Linked DNA regions of Homo sapiens: region 1 is linked to region 2. The links are contacts of gene promoters, found by promoter capture Hi-C in human tissues and cell types (Jung and others, 2019). All regions are on one chromosome and are shown on one strand. Each heading gives the region's core, a stretch centred on a gene start or on the middle of the fragment in contact. The rest is flanking DNA. Distances are from core to core; before and after follow the strand shown. Region 1 overlaps TPK1 (thiamin pyrophosphokinase 1). Region 2 holds the start of TPK1 (thiamin pyrophosphokinase 1).

Evidence for each region. Contacts are between HindIII fragments. The study calls those that stand out against the background at their distance.
Region 1: a contact is called between a fragment that was not itself captured here and the fragment with the promoter of TPK1 in region 2, in 1 of the 25 tissues and cell types used here (dorsolateral prefrontal cortex).

Annotation. Positions count from the first base shown.
Region 1 is chr7:144,463,304-144,466,338 of GRCh38, reverse strand. All of the region lies in intron 8 of TPK1 (thiamin pyrophosphokinase 1), which reads left to right. Among named protein-coding and RNA genes, the nearest start is that of NOBOX, 61 kb to the right of the region's middle. The HindIII fragment of the contact is 4,814 bases long and covers 1-3,035 here.
Region 2 is chr7:144,834,803-144,838,024 of GRCh38, reverse strand. TPK1 (thiamin pyrophosphokinase 1) reads left to right here and starts at 1,972. Exons shown (of 9, transcript NM_022445.4): 1 at 1,972-2,058; 2 at 2,407-2,465. The coding sequence starts at 2,423. RefSeq lists an enhancer at 1,762-1,831 and a silencer at 2,132-2,231. The HindIII fragment of the contact is 4,228 bases long and covers 1-2,354 here.

The sequences.
Region 1 (3,035 bases), core at 364-2,863, 370 kb after region 2:
TTTTCCACAAGACAATGAAAAGCCACCATGACCACTGAGATTTCATTTTCGGGACTGTCACAGTTTCAGGCTGAGATATAAGAAAGAACCATCTATTATTAAAGGAGCAGAGGTCAAGTCATGCCGGTGGCCCTCGTAGGGTAAAGCAGGGGTCGGGGAGGGGCTGGTGCAGGAGGGTGGCAGGAGATCTGGAGGAGCTAGAGTGGCAGGTACTCACTGTAACAGGGAATCTCGAGTGGGCAGTGGAGCCAAAGAGGAAAGCAGGGCACCGCGTAGGGACACAGGCAGCAGGGAAGATGCCTTTGTGAGAGGAGCGGGAATTTCACCAGCAAGAGGTGGCCTGAGTGGACCAGTTGGTCTGGCTGAATTGATCAAGATTGAGCCAGAATCTTAGAGGGATTTACATGGCAAATCTTTCAGAACTTCAAGGGCTTTCTGTAAATTCAAGGATTCAGTCATCTGGTTAATTTGACTAGATCTTCCCAAGCACAAATAAATGGAAAATTGACTTCTAATAGTACCTAACCTTCACTCCGATATTTCCGGCTTTTGAACTTTACCAAAGGTAACCTCCCAGGTGCTCAGCGAAAGGAAAATTTAAGATAGTACATGAAGGAGAAGAGACTAGACAAGGTCATGCAGAAATTAAATGAAAAGGCTTTTATTTCACAAGCAGGGAATCGAAACCAGACCACCAGTAAGAAAGGGCAAAGCCTTAGCAACTGAGCTACAGCATAGGGCAGTCTTCACTGTTCTTCCCAGAAAGCATCTAGAATAGTTAATTGTGAGCTTACACAGGCTTTTAACTACTCAAGATAATTTTTAGAGCTAATTATGACATAAACCCTAAAATTCCTGTTCCCTGGAAGGAGGAGACCAAGAGAAAGTACTGCCACGTGGTAACAAGGTCAAGCTCCCAAGGACATAAAACAAGATGGAGATAAACAGTGATTTTTACCATTCAGTCAACCATTTGCACAGAAAGAGAGAAGCCAGAAGTCTGACTGGTAAGAAATTCTTACCCTTTTGCCGGCATGCCAGGCTTCTGGGTTCTCTTTGCCTGAGCGGCCTCCATGACTGAGCTTGCCACACCATCGCGCTGGGGCAAAGCCACATCAGAAAAGAAAATTATCTTTTTCTGTTCTGGCCAGAGTAAAATACATGTGACAAAAACATAGACATTAGCTGCTCTGATTAGCACCCAGTATCAAACTGGCAAGGCTCAAATTTGCACCTGGTTGGGCTCCATCATCATTAATCCAACCTCCAACCAGGAGTTTCAACCTGTGGTCTCTGGGCAAGATGGTTGCCCTGAGTAATAGAAAAGATAAGAAAGAGAAAGGAGAAAGAGAAAAGCATTGCCTGAGGCAGGGTGGGGAAGGTGAAATGATCTGGGAGGCCAGAGAAAGACCCACCCATTGCAGCGACACTGAAAAAAAAGTTCAGGCGGCTGCTTCTAGGTAGCGAAGGGATCTTTTCCAGCAGGCCCATCATCTCTCAAGTTTCCCCTTTTAGGGAGGAAAAAGCTCCCCATGTCCCACGATCCTGTACATGCCTAATCCTGTCACCCACAGTTGTCAGCAAAGAGTGCAAGGCAGATTATTCCAAAGAGAATAGCAGTTGACATGCTGTAGTGCCAAACCCATTCTTAGACAAAAGGGACTTTACTTAGAGCCCTCATTTTAAAAATGTACTTCAAATGCATTGTTGTTCATTCGGAACATTCCACTGTGTTATCTTTAGTAACATTTTGCTGTTTCTGTAAGACTTCGCTGCCTCCCAGGCCTGAAGTGTAAGCCAGAAAGAACTCAGTTTTCCAGAAACTAAGGATCCCATTTTTACCTAAAATATTGGCCTTACGCTCAGCTTCTCTTGATTAACTTAGCCAGTGATTTTTTTTTCCTACCCAAGTGTAAGAAAAATGAAACAAAGGGGTATAACACAAAAATCTGATTTTTCAAAAGCCAAATTTTATAACTCCTGCAATATTACTGCTTACTACCAGTTCCTTTCTGACCCAGTCAGATGTAAGAGGCTTCTAACTGGATCCAAGCCAGTTAATTCCCAGATCAAATCCATTCCTGTACCCAGTCCAGTTTCTGTCACAACTCCAAACCCAGTTTGGATCAGAAATTTGCTCAAAGAAACTCAGAGAGCTCAAAACACAAATCTGTGGAGCTGGGAAATCCAAGAGGGAGCTTAACCATGATCCCCAGTGGCTGTGAGAGATCAGTGGAGCTCGGAAATCCAAGAGGGAGCTTACCCATGATCCCCAGTGGCTGTGAGAGATCAGCGGAGCTCCGAAATCCAAGAAGGAGCTTACCCATGATCCCCAGCAGCTCTAAGAGATGAGTGGACACAAGTGGGTCCTGCAGGTACCTTGCATATTCACTCAGCACTGCTGGGGGATGCTAGAAGCTCCATTTTGGATCCCACTTCTGACACCATCTGATAAAAGAAAAACTTCAGCCGAATTAAATTTAAAAGAGTTCAATTGAGCAGTGAACGATTTGCAAATCCGGCAGCCCCCAGAATCACAGCAGATTCACAGAGACCCTCTTGACTGGTAAATTCTAAAAGGGCCTGGATTATGTCTCTTTAGCTTATTTGTATAAATACCACCTGCAGGTTTGAGATTGATGTTAAGTAATCATACCATGCTACTGCACATGTTCCTCTCTTTTTTCACTTTTCTATGACATTTCTGTTTGTTTGATGTACCTGTAATAATCTCTGTTGACATTTGAAGGATAGAAGCAAATGCCACTTTAAAGCTTCCTCAGTGCAGATGAAATGATGATAATAATACAACACATTTTCAACACTTTTCTGGAGAAGTCAAAGCTCTTCACAGACATTAACTCATTCATCTTCACGATAGCAGTATTAGAGGTAACTGGGGACAAGTATTATTGGCATTTTACAAATGGATGCTGAGGTCACCTGAGGGACTTTTAACAAAAGTCATAAAATATTACAGTGAAAAGATCAACTCTCTGTTTTCAGGGATGGCACTGAGGCCCAGCAGTACAAAA
Region 2 (3,222 bases), core at 723-3,222:
GTACCATAATTCTCCATTTTTTTCCCATTATTTGTTAATTTATTTCACATTTACTGAACTTATCTTGGTGAGACACACTGTGTGGCTGGAGAAATAGCAGGGAAGGAAATAGACAAGGCTCCTGCCCTTAGAGAGCTAGCTCTCTAGTAGGGGGAGACAAATCATTAACAAGTAAACTGTGCTAGAGTGAGGATTCAAGGGCCAACAACTAAATTTTGGTCCTTGTTTTCCTGGAGCCTACATTTTAGGGTAATTAAATAAAATATAAAAGACCTCAACACTGACTGGAACATAATAATTGATCAGTAAGTGTAAATTTTTATTACTGCTTAAAAAATTGGTTACAATCTGCCATTGAATTCATTGTTCAAGATTTCGTTCTGAATATTGGTGATGTGTTTTTGCCATTTGACTACCTTCTATAATTTGCCTTGCCTGTTTATATCCTTGGTCATAATTTTTCTGGTTTGCCTTTTACTAATGGACATGTAGTTCTGAGGCAGAATAGGGTCTGGAGGCAGGGAATGTTAAGGCCGATTCATGCTGACTTCCTGGAACTAAATCAAATTGCAGTACTTCAGCAATGACAGGAAACATCCTCTCCATTTACACAGGGCTTATATCCAGTAAATGACTTTAAAATTTACTTCATCCTCTTCATTTACATAGGGCATAAGCCAAGTAACCAATGGAAACCTCTAGCTGGCATTTAAACCCCAGAACATTCTCTAACGGCACTCTTGAGCCCCTATCCTCGGGCGCTCCCAACCTATGGGGTGTACTTTCATCTTCAATAAATCTCTGTTTTTGCTTCATTCTTTCCTTGCTTTGTGCGTTTTGTCCAATTCTTTGTTCAAGACGCCAAGAACCTGGACACATCAACTGGTAACAGCTCTTCATAGGATAAACACATGGCAACCACTTGTCTATTACATGTGCAGATAGTTTCCTTGTACCCCAATTGTCTTTTAGGTTCATTAAGGTCATATTTAAACATGGACTTTTGAAATTTGTTGTAGCTAAACCCGTATATAAGCATTTAGGCTTCCTCCTTCTTTGGGTCTTTTCTTGTGGACTCCCATGCACATAGCTGTAAGCTTTTCCCCTGTTAAACTGTCTTAAGTCAATTTAACCTCTTAGGCCCAGGTGGAAACCTTAAGAGGGTAGAGGGAGATTAGGTTCGCTCACTATTGGAAAAGCCTGTATTGCAACAGTGACGCTCTGCAGCTGCAGATAGGTGGCTTAAAGTTTCTTCCAACAAAAACATTCTGTTTCCACAAAGCAAAGTAAGGAAAGCTCTTAACGGAGTGTTCCCTAAAGAAAGCTTTTTTTTTTTCTTTGAGATGGAGTCTCGCTTTGTCGCCCAGACTGGAGTGCACTGGTGTGATCTTGGCTCACTGCAACCTCCGGCCTCCCGGGTTCAAGCGATTCTCCTGCCTCGGCCTCCCGAGTAGCTGGGCCTACAGGCGCGCGCCACCATGCCCGGCTAATTTTTTGTATTTTTAGTAGAGACGAGGTTTCACCATGCTGGCCAGGCTGGTCTCGAACTTCTGACCTCATGATCCGTCCGCCTCGGCCTCCCAAACTGCTGGGATTACAGGCGTGAGTCACCGCACCCGGCCAGGAAGGAAAGCTTTTAACCCGACGGCTCAGGGAGGACACCGGTAGCAGGACTAGAAGCAGCACAGTGGAAAGTAAGTTTGGCTTGGAAGCTAGGTCAAGCATGGGTGATAGGGAATTCGCCACTTAGTTTGAAGCAAATGGCCTCCTTGTTAAAGCTGAGTGCAGAGGGCCCGGCAGCAGTACTACAGCTAGCAGAACCAGCCCAGAAAACGAAGCCTTGGAGACTTGAGGTGGGTAGTGCCGGACGCAGAGCACAGGGCGCGGCTCCCACTTGCCTCCGGCTCCCGGAAGCGGGCGGGGCCACCTCGCGTCCCGGGGGCTAAAACCTGCGAGCGAGGACCGCGCGCCAAGGCTCCTCAGCCGAGCGCCGAGCGGTCGATCGCCGTAGCTCCCGCAGCCTGCGATCTCCAGTCTGTGGCTCCTACCAGCCATTGTGTAAGTGCGACTGCTGCCGGGCGCGCGGGCCGCGGAAGGGGGCGGCCGCCTCTCGCTCCCCAGGTTCCCGGATGGTGATGGGTTCGCGGAGAGAGGCGGCAGGGGCAACCCCTCGGACCTCATAGCGGCCCGCGCGGCCGGTCTCCGGGGGCCCCCGCCCGCGGCGGTGCTGTAGGCGAGCCGTGGCGGGTCCCCAGCGCCGGGTGCTGCGCCGCAGCTCAGCTGGCTCCTGGGTCCCGGAGCGCGCCGCTGCCGAGTGCCAGGTTCAGGCGGCTCCCGTGCTGTTGGTTCTGCGCGATGTTTAATTAAAACTGAGAGTCTAACTTCACTTTTTTTTTTTTAATGCAGAGGCCAATAATCCGTTATGGAGCATGCCTTTACCCCGTTGGAGCCCCTGCTTTCCACTGGTACTGTATTTCTTTCCACGGTTTAGTGTCACTGACGTGCCCCTCCCCAGCGACGGGAACAGGTCGAAAGGACGGGGCTCTAGAGCCAGCGTGACTTCCAGCCTGGGTTCTGTCCCTGATTTCCTAGCTCTGTACCGCTAAGCATATCAGCCTCTCGCCGGTCTCATTTTCCTCATCTGAAAAATGAGCTTACGTATCAGTCCTTGCTGTGAGGACGAAATGACAAGATACAGTGTGTGTAGTCCGTGTGGAGCCCAGTAAGCGCTTCCCGGCTGTTGCGCCTCCACCAACAGCGCGAACAAATCTGGAACATAGCGGAACATTAGACATTGCAGGCATTAAGGACGGTCATCGTTGCCTGACCGTGATGCATTTTTAATCCATTGAAAGTGCCCCGAGCTTATCTAATAAAAGATTGGCAAATGATTATATCAAGTGTTTTAAATCTATATAACACTCAGGATATTTTATTCTTCTAAGATTTGAAATTACTGTGTAACCGAGTTCAGGCTGGGCTGCTCGCTGCTTGCAGAGCCAATCAACAAGGACGAAGGGCCCGGAAAGGAAAGTGACTACTTTCCAAAGCTAGCAATGGGGAAGTAGTCCAAGCTTCTGCCTTAACGAAACCATTTCAAATTTGGACAAAATGTAAGAGCTTATAAAGGGGCGCTTGGTATTGGGGCTCGGGGGCCCCAGTCTACGTGACTTGCTCAGATATTTATCTTGGGTTTTTGCCTCATCTGGTGAATGGGCTGGC